Linked DNA regions of Homo sapiens: region 2 is linked to region 1. Evidence: promoter capture Hi-C in 16 types of primary human blood cells and fetal thymus (Javierre and others, 2016). All regions are on one chromosome and are shown on one strand. The core of a region is centred on a gene start or on the middle of the fragment in contact, and the rest is flanking DNA. Distances in the headings are between cores, read along the strand shown.

Region 1 (7,138 bases), core at 4,471-6,970:
ACACGGTGAAACCCCGTCTCTACTACAAATACAAAAAATTAGCCAGGCATGCTGGCGGGCGCCTGTGGTCCCAGCTACTCGGGAGCCTGAGGCAGGGGAATGGCGTGAACCTAGGAGGCGGAGCTTGCGGTGAGCCAAGATCGCGCCACTGTACTCCAGCCTGGGCGACAGAGCGAGACTCCGTCTCAAAAAAAAAAAAAAAAAAAAAAAAAAATTAGCTGGGCATGGTGGCGTGTAATCCCCGCTGCTAAAGAGGCTGAGGCAGGAGAATCACTTAAGCCCAGGAGGCAGAGGTCGCAGTGAGCTGAGATTGCGCCACTGCACTGCAGCCTGGGCAACAGAGCAAGGGTTTGTCTCCAAAAAAAAAAAAAAAAACACACACACACAACAACAACAAAAAAAACCCCAGCTCTGCAACTTTCTCTCTGTGAGAACTTCGGCAAGTGATGTCACCTCTCTGAGCCTCAGTTTCTCCCTCTGTGACACGGGGATGACAACAGTTCCTCCTTCATAGGTAGGTTGGAGCAGAGAAGGTCAATGAAGCTCTTAGAATAGCATATTGCCAATATCTTGTTATTAGTTATGTTACATTCTATAAAGCTGCTTTGAAGACTAAATTAATGACTATAAGACTGTTGCTCCTAGGGGAAATTTAAGCTTAGGTTCCTGTGAATCTCCAGTCATAACCTTTTTTGGAGACAGGATCTTGCTCTGTCACCCAGGCTGGAGTGCAGTGGCCCAATCAGAGCTCACTGCAGCCTCAAACTCTTGGCCTCAAGTGATCTTCCTGCCTCAGCCTCCCGAGTAGCTGGGATTACAGGCATGCACCACCACACCCAGCTCTGGTCACAAAATTTTAATCAACTGATCAATACACAACCTTGCTCTATGTGTGTTTCTGTTTGAAGACACCTTCCTGAATAGATATCGTTCATTCATTAACTTTGAATTCACAGCCAACAGCACAGTAGTTCATGCCTGAATGAAGCTTCTCTCTTTTTTGTTTTTTGGAAACAGGATCTTGCTCTGTCACCCAGGCTGGAGTGCAGTGGCGCAATCTCTGCCCACTGCAACTGCTGCCTCCTGGATTCAAGCGATTCTCATGCCTCAGCCTCCCAAGTAGCTGGGATTACAGGTGTTCGCCACCAAGCTTGGCTAATTTTTGTATTTTTAGTAAAGACAGGGTTTCACCATGTTGGCCAGGCTGGTCTCGAACTCCTGGCCCCAAGTGATCTGTCCACCTTGGCCTCCCAGAGTGCTGGGATTACATGCATGAGCCAATGTGCCTGGCTGACATGAGCTTATTGTGTGTGAGGGGGCCCTGGGTGAAATACTTATGGACTCCAGATTAACTCCTATAACATGGTTATTATTCCAGTTTTACAGATGGTGAAACTGAGGCCAAAGCACATGATGTGACTCATCAAGTCACATAACCAGTAAGTGGCAGAGCTCGGATTCCAACTCTCAGTCTCGGTCCAGACTTGATCTTTTTTTTTTTTTTTTTTTTTTTGAGACGGAGTCTTGCTCTGTCGCCCAGGCTGTAGCGCAGTGGTGCGATCTCGGCTCACTGCAAGCTCCGCCTCCCTGGTTCACGCCATTCTTCTGCCTCAGCCTCCTGAGTAGCTGGGACTACAGGCGCCCGCCACCACGCCCGGCTAATTTTTTTTTTTTTTTTGTATTTTTAGTAGAGACAGAGTTTCACCGTGTTAGCCGGGATGGTCTCAATCTCCTGACCTCATGATCTGCCTGCCTCGGCCTCCCAAAGTGCTGGGATTACAGGCGTGAGCCACCGTGCCCGGCCTCAGAGTCGATCTTGACTCTCTTACCCAGATCATTGGCTCCAGGAGAACAGGGGTCTTCTCTGTCTTCTTTCCCCTACCTACCCAGTGCCCCCAGTTCTGCGCCCGAACCACTTGCAGGAGATCAGAAAATGTTCTGAGGGTGTGTTAACCATCTCACCTTTGCCTTTGAGCTTCTCCAGGGCTGGGGGCTGGCCCCCGACCAAAGCCAAGAACTCAGCCTCCAGTTCTTCATCGTTAGCCCCGTCCTCAGGGATCATCAGGCCATCTGGGGAGAGGTCAACCAGCAGGCCCAGCTAGGGGAACAGCAAGGGTTCAGTCAGACCTTTGGTTCACCACATGGCTAGAGGCAGCCATGATGGCCAGAGAGTCCCCTTGGGAGGAAGGAAACAAGGTCTCCCAGGGAAAGCCATTTCCCTGGGGAGTGCCAGGAGGCTGGAACAAGCCCAGAACAGGTGTTCCAAGATAGGCCAGGCCCTCTGGCACAGTTCAACCTGGGGCAAAGGGCAAGAGACCCAGCTCTCTGATCTGAATCCACACTTATGATGTGCTGCTGGGCCAAGTTCAGTGGGAAAAGCAGGCCCCTGGCTGGGCGCAGTGGCTCACGCCTGTCATCCCAGCACTTTGGGAGGCCAAGGCAAGAGGATGGCTTGTGTCTGGGAGTTCCAGACCAGCCTGGGCAATACAGTGAGACCCCCAACTCTACAAAAAAAAAAAAAGTTTTTTGTTTTTTGTTTTTTTTTGACACAGAGTCTCGCTCTGTCACCCAGGCTGGAGTGCAGTGGTGCAGTCTCAGCTCACTGCAACCTCCGCCTCCGGGGTTCATGCCATTCTCCTGCCTCAACATCCCGAGTAGCTGGGACTACAGGCGCCCGCCACCACGCCCGGCTAATTTTTTTTTTGTATTTTTAGCAGAGACGGGGTTTCACCTTGTTAGCCAGGATGGTCTCGATCTCCTGACCTCATGATCTGCCCGCCTCGGCCTCCCAAAGTGCTGGGATTACAGGAAAAAAAACTTTTTAAAATTAGCTGGGAGTTGTGCTGTGTGCCTGTGGTCCCAGCTACTCGGGAGGCTGAGGCAGGAGGATCACTTGAGCCTGGGGAGATCAAGGCTGCAGTGAGCCATGACTGTGCTACGGCACTCCGCCTGGGCAACAGAGTAAAGCCCTGTTGAAAGGAAAGAAAGAAAGAGAGATGGAGCCGGGGAGGGAGAGAGGGAGGGAGGAAGGAGGGAAGGAAGGAAAAAAAGAAGGAAGCGAGGGAGGGAGGGAAGGAGGGAAGGAAGCAGGCTCCACACTTTGCCCAAAGCAAAGCTACTCTGTACACTTGGGCTTTTCTTTCCAGCATCCTCAGCAGAGGGGCTGTGTGGGAAGGTTGGGCTTCAAGAGCATGATGGCTGCATGCGGTGGCTCACGCCTGTAATCCAGGAGTTCGAGACCAGCCTAGCCAACATGGTGAAACCCCGTCTCTACTAAAAATACAAAAATTAGCTGGGAGTGCTGGCGGTGTCTGCAATCCCAGCTACTCGGGAGGCTGAGGCAGGAGAATTGCTTGAACCTGGGAGGTGGAGGTTGCAGTGAGCTGAGATTGCGCCACCAAACTCCAGCCTGGGCAACAGAGCAAGACTCTGTCTCCAAAAAAAAAAGAAGAGCAATTAGAAGCCCTGACGACAGGGCCAGGTGCAGTGGCTCACGCTTGTAATCCCAGCACTTTGGGAGACCAAGGTGGGGGGATCACCTGAGGTCAGCAGTTCGAGACTAGCCTGGCCAACATGGTGAAATCCCATCACTACTAAAAATACAAAAATTAGGCCGGGCACGGTGGCTCACGCCTGTAACCCCAGCACTTTGGGAGGCCGAGGCAGGCGGGTCACCTGAGATGGGGAGTTCGAGACAGACCAGCCTGACCAACAGGGAGAAACCCCGTCTCTACTAAAAAATACAAAATTAACCAGGCATGGTGGCGCATGCCTGTAATCCCAGCTACTCGGGAGGCTGAGGCAGGAGAATCGCTTGAACCCGGGAAGCGGAGGTTGCAGTGGGCCGAGATTGCGCCACTGCACTCCAGCCTGGGGCGAGAGAGCAAGACTCTGTCTCAAAAACAAACAAACAAAAAAAGAACCCCTAACCACAATGCAGGTTTGCCATGCAGACCCGTCTTCCTATCTTGGCTAATGACCAATCATGATGTGATAACATCGTGTTTAACCATATGAAATTGCCTTTCCTGTAGGTAAAAAATGGCCAAATATTGGCAATTATGTATGGTTCCACCAACTAGTAATAATGATAATAGTAACATTTATTGAGTGCTATGTTCTAGCACTTTCCATAAACTATCTCAATGACTCTCTACAACTGTCCTGTAATGTAGGGTCTCTTGGAGGTCTCCATTTTTAATTTTTTATTTATTTATTTATTTTCAGAAGGAATTTATTTATTTATTTTGAGAAGGAGCCTTGCTCTGTCACCCAGTCTGGAATGCAGTGGCGCGATCTCAGCTCACTGCAACCTCCGCCTCTCGGTTCAAGCGATTCTCCCACCTCAGCCTCCCGAGTAGCTGGGATTACAGGTGCCCGCCACCATGCCCAGCTAATTTTTGTATTTTTAGTAGAGATGGGGTTTCGCCATGGCCTCCCAAAGTGCTGGGATTACAGGTGTGAGACACCACCCCGGACTTCCATTTTTAATTTTTTATCTTTATTTTAGAGAAAGAGTCTTGTTCTGTCACCCAGGCTGGAGCAGAAGTAGCGCAATCATAGCTCACTGCGGTCTTGAACTCCTGGGCTCAAGCAATCCTCCCTTCTTAGCCTCCCAAGTAGTAGTACTACAGGCACATGCCACCATGCCCAGTTAGTCTTTTTTTGTCGAGACGGGGGTCTTGCTTTTGCCCAGGCTGGTCTCAAACTCTGGCCTCAAATGACTCTCCCACCTCTGCCTCCGCCTCCATCTCCTGAAGTGCTGGGATTATAGAGATCTCCATTTTACAGATGAGAAAGCTGAGGCTCAGAGCTGTAAAGTCAAGTGTCCGATGTACAGAGGCCAGGAGGGAACTTCAGGTCAGCCAGACTCTAATATCTGAACACCAAGCTATGTCCTGGGCTCCTTCCATCAAAACTGAGAAAAATCAAACTATCTGGTGCCTGGGGCAAAGAAGTCGGGAGAGTGAGAAGGGGTCCAGCCACAGTGCCATAAGCTTATGGCTGCAGCCCTGGATTTGTGCTTAGCCCTGGCCAAGCTGTTAATCCCTATGACCTTGGGCAGATGTCTTCACGTCTCTGAGTCTCAAAGTCCTCATCTGTACAATGGAATAAAAAGAGTCTGACATGGCCCGACTGATGCAAGGGTTTGATGTGTCAAGTCCGAGGACTGCCCCTCCTCGACTGGAGCAGCTGTGGCAACAGGTGGCCCCGAACCCGGGGCAGGGCCCCAGGAGCTGGGGAGCCAAGGCCAGTAGGCCACACTTGGGTGGTGTTGGAGCCTCACCTGGGGGGAGGCGGGGACCGGGGCTTACCTGTGGGGCGGAGATCGGGCTTCCCTGGGGGGTGGGGCCCTTCCCTGAGCGAGTGACGGGGGTGGGGAGGGATCCCCAGGTCGGGCCGTGGGGCGCAAACTCACCTGGCGGGCGGCCGCGGCGCCTCTGCCCGGGGGTCCCGGGGGTCCTTTCCTCTTGTGCATCTTCAAGGCTGGATGCCCGGACCACCTGCCCCCAAGCCCGGCCTTGCCCTGCCTCCTTCCCCGGGCTCTGTCGCCGCGCACTCGCCCTTCCTGAGTCCTGCACTCCTCGTCGGCGCCCCGCGGCCGTCGATCCCGAGCCCTCGCTTCCCTGCTTGGCCGTCCCACTTCCGCCTCGGGCCTCGGGCGCCGCCGCACCGGAGCGCGGCCACTGGGCTCGCCGGGTCTGCCGAGCCGAAACTACAACTCCCGGCAGGTAGTGCGTGGGCGCGCAGGCGCCTGGCTGGGGCGGTGCTGACTGTCGCGGGCTGCGAGGGCGGTGTTTGCGTCGCTCATGCGCGGGGCGGGACCTCGCGGGGCGCGGGAAAGAGGCAGAGCGCGCGCAGGTGTGAGGGGCGGCGACATCTGTGGGGTTCAGAGCGTCTGTCAGTCACCGACGGGCTCCGGCTTCACGTGGGCTCTCGGCCTGTGGAGTCCTCACTTCTCGGTGGTCGGCGTAGTGTCAGTGTGGGGCTTGTCACCGGGAGCGGGGTCTACAGCGCCCACCCTCAGGCCTTTCCATCTTTCACCTCCGGACTCGAGGCCTCCAGCGTTCTGTGAGGGCCAATTTGGCCATTTATTTTTTCCAAAAAGAGTAACGCGGATAATTCAAGCGACTTATTCCCAACTGATCCAGGCAGAGCTCGTTTCTGATAAGGACAGAGGGTCCTCAACGACTTCTGTGGCCCAGGTCCGTTCTGGTTTGCCTCGCCCCCAAGGCTGGGAGAAACCGGCCTATGGCAGCTCTTTCCCCTCCAAGGACCCAGCTGTCCCCTTTAAAGTGGCACGATCTTGGCTCATTGCAACCTCTGCCTCCTGGCCTTGTACCACAGCCTCCTGAGTAGCTGGGATTACGGGTGTGTGCCACCGCACCTGACTAATTTTTTTTTTTTTTTTTGAGACGGAGTCTCGCTCTGTCGCCCAGGCTGGAGTGCAGTAGAGCGATCTCGGCTCACTGCAACCTCTGCCTCATGGGTTCAAGGAATTCTACTGTCTCAGCCTCCCAAGTAGCTGGGATTACAGGTGTGCGTCACGATGCCCAGGCTAATTTTTGTGTTTTTAATAGAGAGGGGGTTTCACCATATTGGCCAGGCTGGTCTCCAGAGGCCCCTGGAGAGTCCTCAAGTGTCCTTGGAAGGGCCCCCAGATACCCCAGTCTGGAGGGAGGGGCTTCACACAGGCTGTTTCATCCTAGGGACCAGAGTCTGGGTCCCCGGGGCTATCTATAAGGACCCCCCAGGGCCCATTTGTCTTTCAGGTCCTGGGCATAAGATCTTCAGTTTGGAGGAGGTTTGAATTCCTACCTGGCCATGGCCCAAAGTGGCTGTGACTCTGTGTCCCATCCTGTGTCCCAGTGGGAGCCATCTGACCCCTGGGGCAGCCAAATGGGCTGAGGTGGAGGTAGGGGTAACCTCTGCTCTCAGCCAAAGCCACTGGATATAAACAGAGACAGAGACTGCTTATAATGATGAGAGATTTTGCTTGTTTTCAGATTTCTCAAGGGGAAGATAAAATGACTAAGAGGAAGAAGCTGCGGACCTCAGGTACGTTCATTCAAATGGACACTTGTTGATTTCTGCTTCTGCTTGTGGGAAGAATGTGGGCTTGTTTATTGCAGATCTG
Region 2 (7,117 bases), core at 1,552-4,051, 430 kb before region 1:
CTCTGGGAGGCGGTGAAACTCTAATTAGAATGAAAATGTAGTTTAATGAGGATGAAAACGGTAATTGTGCCAGGCAGCGCAGTTCAGAAGTGTCGCTTTCCCTTGGGGCACCTTGCTGGCCTCTGAGGCTCTGGGCATGGGTGAGAAGGACTCAGGGCTGGGAAGGCAGGGGATTGTCAGTGCCTCAGTTTCCCCCCAAAGTGTCCTCCCGCTGGCATGGGGTAAAGAGCCTGTGTAGAGCCCCACGTGCCCCTGGGGCTGGTTCCAGGTGCCCAGAGCAACGTTTTTCCATCCCACACTTTATTCCTATTAATAATACAACCATCCGTGGAACCATATCAGTGATGCCATTTATTGAGTGCCTACTATGTGCCAGGTACCATTCTAACCCCTTCACAGATGCTAACTCAGGTAATCCTTAAAATTATCCTCATTTTACAGATGGGAACACTGAGGCACAGATAAACCATTGACCCTGGTAGGGATATTTTAAAGAGCGGGTGAGGGCCGGGCGTGGTGGCTCACACCTGTAATCCCAGCACTTTGGGAGGCTGAGGCGGGCGGACCACTTGAGGTCAGGAGTTCAAGACTAGCCTGAAAAACATGGCAAAACCCCATCTCTACTAAAAATACAAAAATTAGCCGGAGGTAGTGGTGCGTGTTTGTAGTCCCAGCTACTTGGGAGGCTGAGGCAGGAGAATAGCTTGAACTCAGGAGGCGGAGGTTGCAGTGAGCCGAGATGGTGCCACTGTACTCCAGCCTGGATGACAGAGAAGGACTCCGTCTCAAAAAAAAAAAAAAAAAAAAGAGTGGGTGAGGAGAAAGGTGGAATACAGTAGCCAGGTGCCTCCTTCTTTCTTTTTTTTATTTTCTTTTTCTTTTTTCTTTTCTTTTCTTTTCTTTTTTTTTTTTTTTTTTTGAGACAGTCTTGCTTTGTTGCCCAGGCTGGAGTGAAGTGGTGTGATCTCGGCTCACTGCAACCTTCGCCTGCTGAGTTCAAGCGATTCTCGTGCCTCAGCCTCTTGAGTAGCTGGGATTACAGGCATACACGACCACACCGGCTGATTTTTGTATTTTTAGTAGAGATGGGGTTTTGCCATGTTGATCAGGCTGGTCTTGAACTCCTGGCCTCAAGTTCAAGATTTGCCTGCCTCGGCCTCCCAAAGTGCTGGGATTACAGGAGTGAGTCATTGCGCCCAGCTATCCTTTCTTTAACCAGGTGGGTGCTAGGGGCATGAAGGAATTGCCAGCCATCGAGGCCAGGGGATCTTCTCCCTCCTCCTCCCCCTGGCCCAGGATCCTCACTATTTCGGTTCTTCACTTCTTTTTAATGCTCTAATCACGCCTCTCTCTTTAATGCTCTAATCACACCTCTCCACTCGAAGGTGGGCGTGGCTAGACGATTGGTGGGCGTAGCTAGATGAGAGGGCGTGGTTTATGTACAGTGGGCATGGTTTGATACACAGTGGGCGTGGCTAGAAGCGCATTCTGCGTGGCAGAATTTACCAACCCATCTTAACTTGGAGGAATCAGAAACTGGAGCCATAGCAGTAAACTACAGAACCCAGACACAAAGCCGTGGCTTCTGGCCCCAGGGCCTGAGCTTTCTTGCCATGGAAAGCTGAAGGGTTCTTCAAGTGTTCTGGGTAAGACTGAGGTTCATAAGATCTCAAAGTCTCTGCTTTTGTTTCTGGAGGAACCGCCAATAAAATGCAACCTGCAATGAGGCCTAGACAGAAGAGAAATGTTCATTGAGGCCAGTTGGGCAATAAAAGGAGATCTAGCTGGAGTCCCAGATCAGAGGAGATAGCCAGCCTGGGCAACATAGTGAGACCCCATCCCTACAAAAATAATTTTTAAAAATTTATCTGGGCATGGTGGCACACACCTGTGGTCCCAGCTACTCAGGAGGCTGAGGCAGGAGGATGGCTTGAGCCCAGGAGGTTGATGCTGCAGTGATTGCGGTGAGCTATTATGGTGCCACTGCATTCCAGCCTGGGCAACGGAGTGAGGCTCTATCTCAAGAAAAAAAAGGAAAAGAAAAGATCAAGGGAGATTAGATTGTTTGCCACGTATATGGCAGACAAATCATTAAGAGCCTTAATATACAAAAAGCACATATGAATCAATAAGAAAAAAAAGACAAACATCCCAAATGTGAAATTGGCACAGGGCTTGAATAGGGGGTTCACAAAGGAGTGAGAGCTTAACAAACCTCTGTAAAGATGCTCAATCTGACCGTTCAGCTGAAGAATCACTTTTCCTTGTCAAGCTTATGAGTGTGTGTGAAGTTTTGGGAATGCACACTTGAGCACGGTCATGGGAGTTTAAATTGACACAACTTTTTTTTTTTTAATTTTTTGAGACAGGGTCTCACTATGTCACCCATGCTGGAGTGCAGTGGCACAATCACGGCTCACTGCAGCCTCAACCTCCTAGGCTTAAGGAATCCTCCCACCTCAGCCTGCCAAATAGCTGACTACAGGTACAGGTCACCACACCCAGCTAATTTTTTAAAAACTTTTTGTAACATGGGGTCTCACGACTTGCCCAGGCTGGTCTCAAACTCCTGATCTCAAGTGATCCTCCCTCCTCGGCCACCCAAAGTGCTAGGATTACAGATGTCAGCCACCGCACCCGGCCACGATACAACTTTCTTGGGATGGTGTTCTAGATATTAGTATTAAACCTTTAAGCATGTGGATTCTCTGACCCAGCAAATCCACCTCTAGGAATTTATGTCAGGGATATAATCAGTCAAATAGGTGGAGAACTATAAAGAATAGGCTGGGCACGGTGGCTCACGCCTGTAATCCCAGCACTTTGGGAGGCTGAGGCGGGCAGATCACCTGAGGTCAGGAGTTCGAGACCAGGTTGGCCAACATGGTGAAACGCCGTCTCTACTAAAAATACAAAAATCAGCCGGGCGTGGTGGCAGGCGCCTGTAATCCCAGCTACTCGGGAGGCTGAGGCAGGAGAATTGCTTGAACCTGGGAGGCAGAGGTTGCAGTGAGCCGATATTGTACCATTGCACTCCAGCCTGGGGGACAAGAGCAAGACTTCGTCTCAAAAAAAGAAAAGAAAAGAAAAGAATAACTAACACAGGGTGGTTAAGAGCTCTGGAATCAGACAGCCAGGGTTCGAATTCTGGCTTCACCACCTTCAAGCTGTGTGACCTAAGTCATATGGTTTATTGTTACGGTTCCCAGATTTTCTCATCAGTAAAATGGGCCTCTCATGAGGACTCCATGAGGCAAAGTGTGTGAAATGCTTAGCCTTCTGCCAGGCACATAGAGGATGCTTGCTGTTACCATCATTAAGAAAAGCTTTAAAAGAGGCTGGAAACAATGGAGGTACCTGGGCTCTGGGGATTGGCTACATGCATAGTAGAAAATGAAAGTGGGCTGGGCATGGTGGCTCATGCCTGTAATCCCAGCACTTTGGGAGGCCCAGGTGGGAGGATCGCCTGAGCCCAGGAGTTCAAGACTAGCCTGGGCAACATAGCCAGATCCCAACTCTACAAAAACTAAAAAATTAGCCAGGCATGGTGGCACATGTCTGTACTTCCAGCTACTTGGGAGGCTGAGGGGGGAGGATTGCTTGAGCCCAAGGAGGTGGAGGCTGCAGTGAGCGCATATCGCACCACTGCACTCCAACCTGGGTGACAGAATGAGAACCTGTCTCAACAAAGAAAAGGAAATTAAAAGCTGGGTGTGGTGGCTGACACCTGTAATCTCAGCACTTTGGGAGGCTGAGGTGGGCGGATCACTTGAGGTCACGAGTTCGAGACCAGCCTGGCCAACTTGGTGAAACCCTGTCTCTACTAATAATACAAAAATTAGCTGGATGTGTTGGTGGGTGCCTGTAATCCCAGCTACTTGGGAGGTGAGGCAGGAGAATCGCTTGAACCCAGGAGGTGAAAGTTGCAGTGAGCCGAGATCTCGCCACTGCACTCCAGCCTGGGTGATAAGGTGGCTCAGTCTCAAAAAAAAGAAAAGAAAATTCAAGTGCTAAAACTTATATTCATTGACACAGCGTGACCTCTGTGATATATTAATTAAAAAAAAAAGAAAACCAATTTCAAACATCATATATAACCACATCTTTCAAGCACTTTGATCACAAATCAAAGAATTAATTTTTTACATTGCAACGTAGGCCTTCTACCCAGGTTTGGAACTAAAACAAAAGTTTCAGGAAGTCATAGTCATATTTCTACTGTGCAGTGGGTTCTGATATTTTCTAGTCTCTTTTGTTCCATTTTAAAAGGCTGGTCGTTTTTGCAATTACAGTATTTTTCTCTTTAAGGTTCTGGTTAATGTAACCCTGTAACCCAGACTCCCAGTAAAAAGGGTGTCTAGATAGTGACTAAGGAAAGGATGAAGGAAGACAGGGAAAGTGGTATTTCCAATCCACTAGGCTTGAATTTTTTTTTTTTTTTTTTTTTTTTGAGACGGAGTTTCGCTTTTGTAGCCCAGGCTGGAGTGCAATGGCACGATCTTGGCTCACTGCAAGCTCCGCCTCCCAGGTTCAAGCAATTCTCCTGCCTCAGCCTCCCGAGTGGCTGGGATTACAGGCGCCCGCCACCACACCCGGCTAAGAGTGTGTGTGTGTGTGTGTGTGTGTGTGTGTGTGTGTTTAGTAGAGACGGGGTTTCACCATGTTGGCCGGGCTGGTCACAAACTCCTGGGGTTACAGGCGTGAGTCACCGCACCTAGCCTCTTTTTTTTTTTTTTTTTTTTTTTTTGAGACGGAGTCTTGCTCTGTCGCCCAGGTTGGAGTGCAGTGGCGCGATCTCGGCTCACTGCAAGCTCCGCCTCCTGGGTTGACGCCATTCTCCTGCCTCAGCCTCCTGAGTAGCTGGGACTACAGGCGCCCGCCACCACGCCTGGCTAATTTTTTGTATTTTTAGTAGAGACGGGTTTTCACCGTGTTAGCCAGGATGGTCTCAATCTCCTGACCTTGTGATCTGCCGGTCTTGGCCTCCCAAAGTGCTGGGATTACAGGCGTGAGCCACCGCGCCCAGCCTTTTTTTTTTTTTTTTTTTTTTTTTTTTTTTTTTAATATAGTGATGCGGTCTTACCATGTTGTCCAGGCTGTTCTCAAGCTCCTGGGCTCAAGCGATCCTCCTGTCTTGCCATCCCAAAGTGCTGGGTTTGCAGGCCTGAGCAACTGCGCCTGGCAGTGGTAACTCTTGAATGGGGGAAAAGTGGGCACAGACAAGCCCCACGATGGTCCAGCCTCCAAAGCGCAGCCGCCTGGGTCTTCCCCTCCAGCCTCCGGGACAAGGGGAATCTCAGTGGCTGAAACTTCTGGGGATGGAGGAGGAGCGGCATCCGGGGAGGGTGAGCCGAGCCCGGCGTGCGGCTCCGGAGGAGGCTCCGCCCGGCTCGGGTCCCCTCCCAGGGGCTGGGCTGGCGGGAAGGGCCCGGGCTGCCGGGCAGGCAGAAACGGAGCCTGGGAGTCTGCTATCGACCGCCTGGGCGGCGGTAGGGAAGCTTTTAGATCTGCCCGCTCGTCCCGGAGGGGGGCAAGGGCGAGGCTCCCCCTCCCCTAAAGAGCGGAGGCCCGGGGGGTTTCCTGTCACCCCTACAGGCCACCCACCAGCAAGGCTTGCAGGCTAGCCTCCGAACTGAGCCCAAAATCCGGTTGCTGGAATTGGAATTACTTTTCCTGGAACTTTATTGAGAGTTAATTTACATGCGGTGAAGTCCCAAGCCTGCACATATTATTTGCATGCACGACCCCGTGTCCCCACCCCATCAAAGTAAGGAACACTTCCATTCAGACGGCCCAGAAATCAATGTCCCTTCATCCATTCCCCACCCACAGCCACTCCACTGATTTTTTTTTTTTTTTTTTTTTTTTTTTGAGATGGAGTTTTGCTCTTGTTGCCCAGGCTGGAGTGCAATGGCACGATCTGGGCTCACCGCAACCTCTGCCTCCCGGGTTCTAGCGATTCTCCTGCCTCAGCCTCCTGAGTAGTTGGGATTACAGGCATGCACCACCATGCCCAGCTAATTTTTGTATTTTTAGTACAGATGGGGTTTCACCATGCTGGTCAGGCTGGTCTCAAACTCCCAACCTTAGATGATCCGCCCGCCTCGGCCTCCCAAAGCACTGGGATTACAGGTGTGAGCCACCAGGCCCGGCCTGATTTTTCTTTTCTTTTCTTTTTTTTTTTGTTTTTTGTTTTTTGAGACAGAGTCTCGCTCTGTCAGCCAGGCTGGAGTGTAGTGGTGCGATCTCGGCTCACTGCAAGCTCTGCCTCCCAGGTTCACGCCATTCTTCTGCCTCAGCCTCCCGACAAGCTGGGACTACAGGCGCCGGCCACCACGTCCGGCTAATTGTTTTTTGTATTATTTAGTAGAGACGGGGTTTCATCATGTTAGCCAGGATGGTCTCGATCTCCTGACCTCGTGATCCGCCTGCCTCGGCCTCCCAAAGTGCTGGGATTACAGGCGTGAGCCACCGTGCCCGGCCTCTTTTCTTTTCTTTTTAGAAACAGGGTCTTGCTCTGTTGCCCAGGCTGGAGTGCAGTGGTGCAACCATAGCTCACCGAAGCCTCTACCTCCTAGGCTCAAGCAATTCTCCTGTCTCAGCCTCTGAGTAGCTGGAACTACAGGCCCTCACCACCAAGCCCAGCTAATTTTTGTATTTTTTGTAGAGACAGACAGGGTCTTGCTGTTATCCAGGCTGATGTTGAATTCCTGGCCTCAAGCGATCCTCCTGTCTCAGCCTCCCAAAGTGCTGAGATTACAGGTGTGAGCCATAGGGTGGGGCCCACTATCCTGAATTCTTTTTGTGTGTGTGACAGTTTCACTCTGTTGCCCAGGCTGGAGTGCAGTGGCACGATCTCAGCTCACTGCACCCTCCACTTCCCAGGGTCAAGCGATTCTCATGTCTCAGTCTCCAAAGTAGCTGAAATTACAGGCACACGCCACCACACCCCGCTGATTTTTGTATTTTTTGTAAAGATGGGGTTTTGACATGTTGGCCAAGCTGGTCTTAAAGTCCTGGCCTCAAGTGATCTGCCCACCTCGGCCTCCCAAAGTGCTGGGATTATAGGCGTGAGTCACTGCACCTGGCTACTATTCTGATTTCTATCACCTTAGAT

Evidence for each region. Contacts are between HindIII fragments. The CHiCAGO score rates a contact against its expected background, and 5 or more counts as called.
Region 2: a fragment that was not itself captured here is called in contact with the fragment with the promoter of CC2D1A in region 1 in 4 of 17 cell types (naive CD8 T cells, monocytes, total CD8 T cells and 1 more); the score reaches 6.2 in naive CD8 T cells.

Annotation. Positions count from the first base shown.
Region 1 is chr19:13,904,783-13,911,920 of GRCh38, reverse strand. It overlaps CC2D1A (coiled-coil and C2 domain containing 1A), which reads right to left and starts at 5,720. Exons shown (of 29, transcript NM_017721.5): 1 at 5,420-5,720; 2 at 1,963-2,098. The coding sequence starts at 5,479. BRME1 (break repair meiotic recombinase recruitment factor 1) reads left to right here and starts at 5,804. Exons shown (of 9, transcript NM_001345843.2): 1 at 5,804-6,206; 2 at 7,008-7,059. The coding sequence starts at 7,029. RefSeq lists a silencer at 5,346-5,405. The HindIII fragment of the contact is 3,878 bases long and covers 5,000-7,138 here.
Region 2 is chr19:14,331,986-14,339,102 of GRCh38, reverse strand. The region is part of intron 1 of LINC01841 (long intergenic non-protein coding RNA 1841); the gene reads left to right. It overlaps LINC01842 (long intergenic non-protein coding RNA 1842), which reads right to left and starts at 5,360. Exons shown (of 2, transcript NR_134916.1): 1 at 5,084-5,360. RefSeq lists enhancers at 1-122, 123-623, 4,663-5,338 and a silencer at 1,320-1,520. The HindIII fragment of the contact is 1,054 bases long and covers 2,275-3,328 here.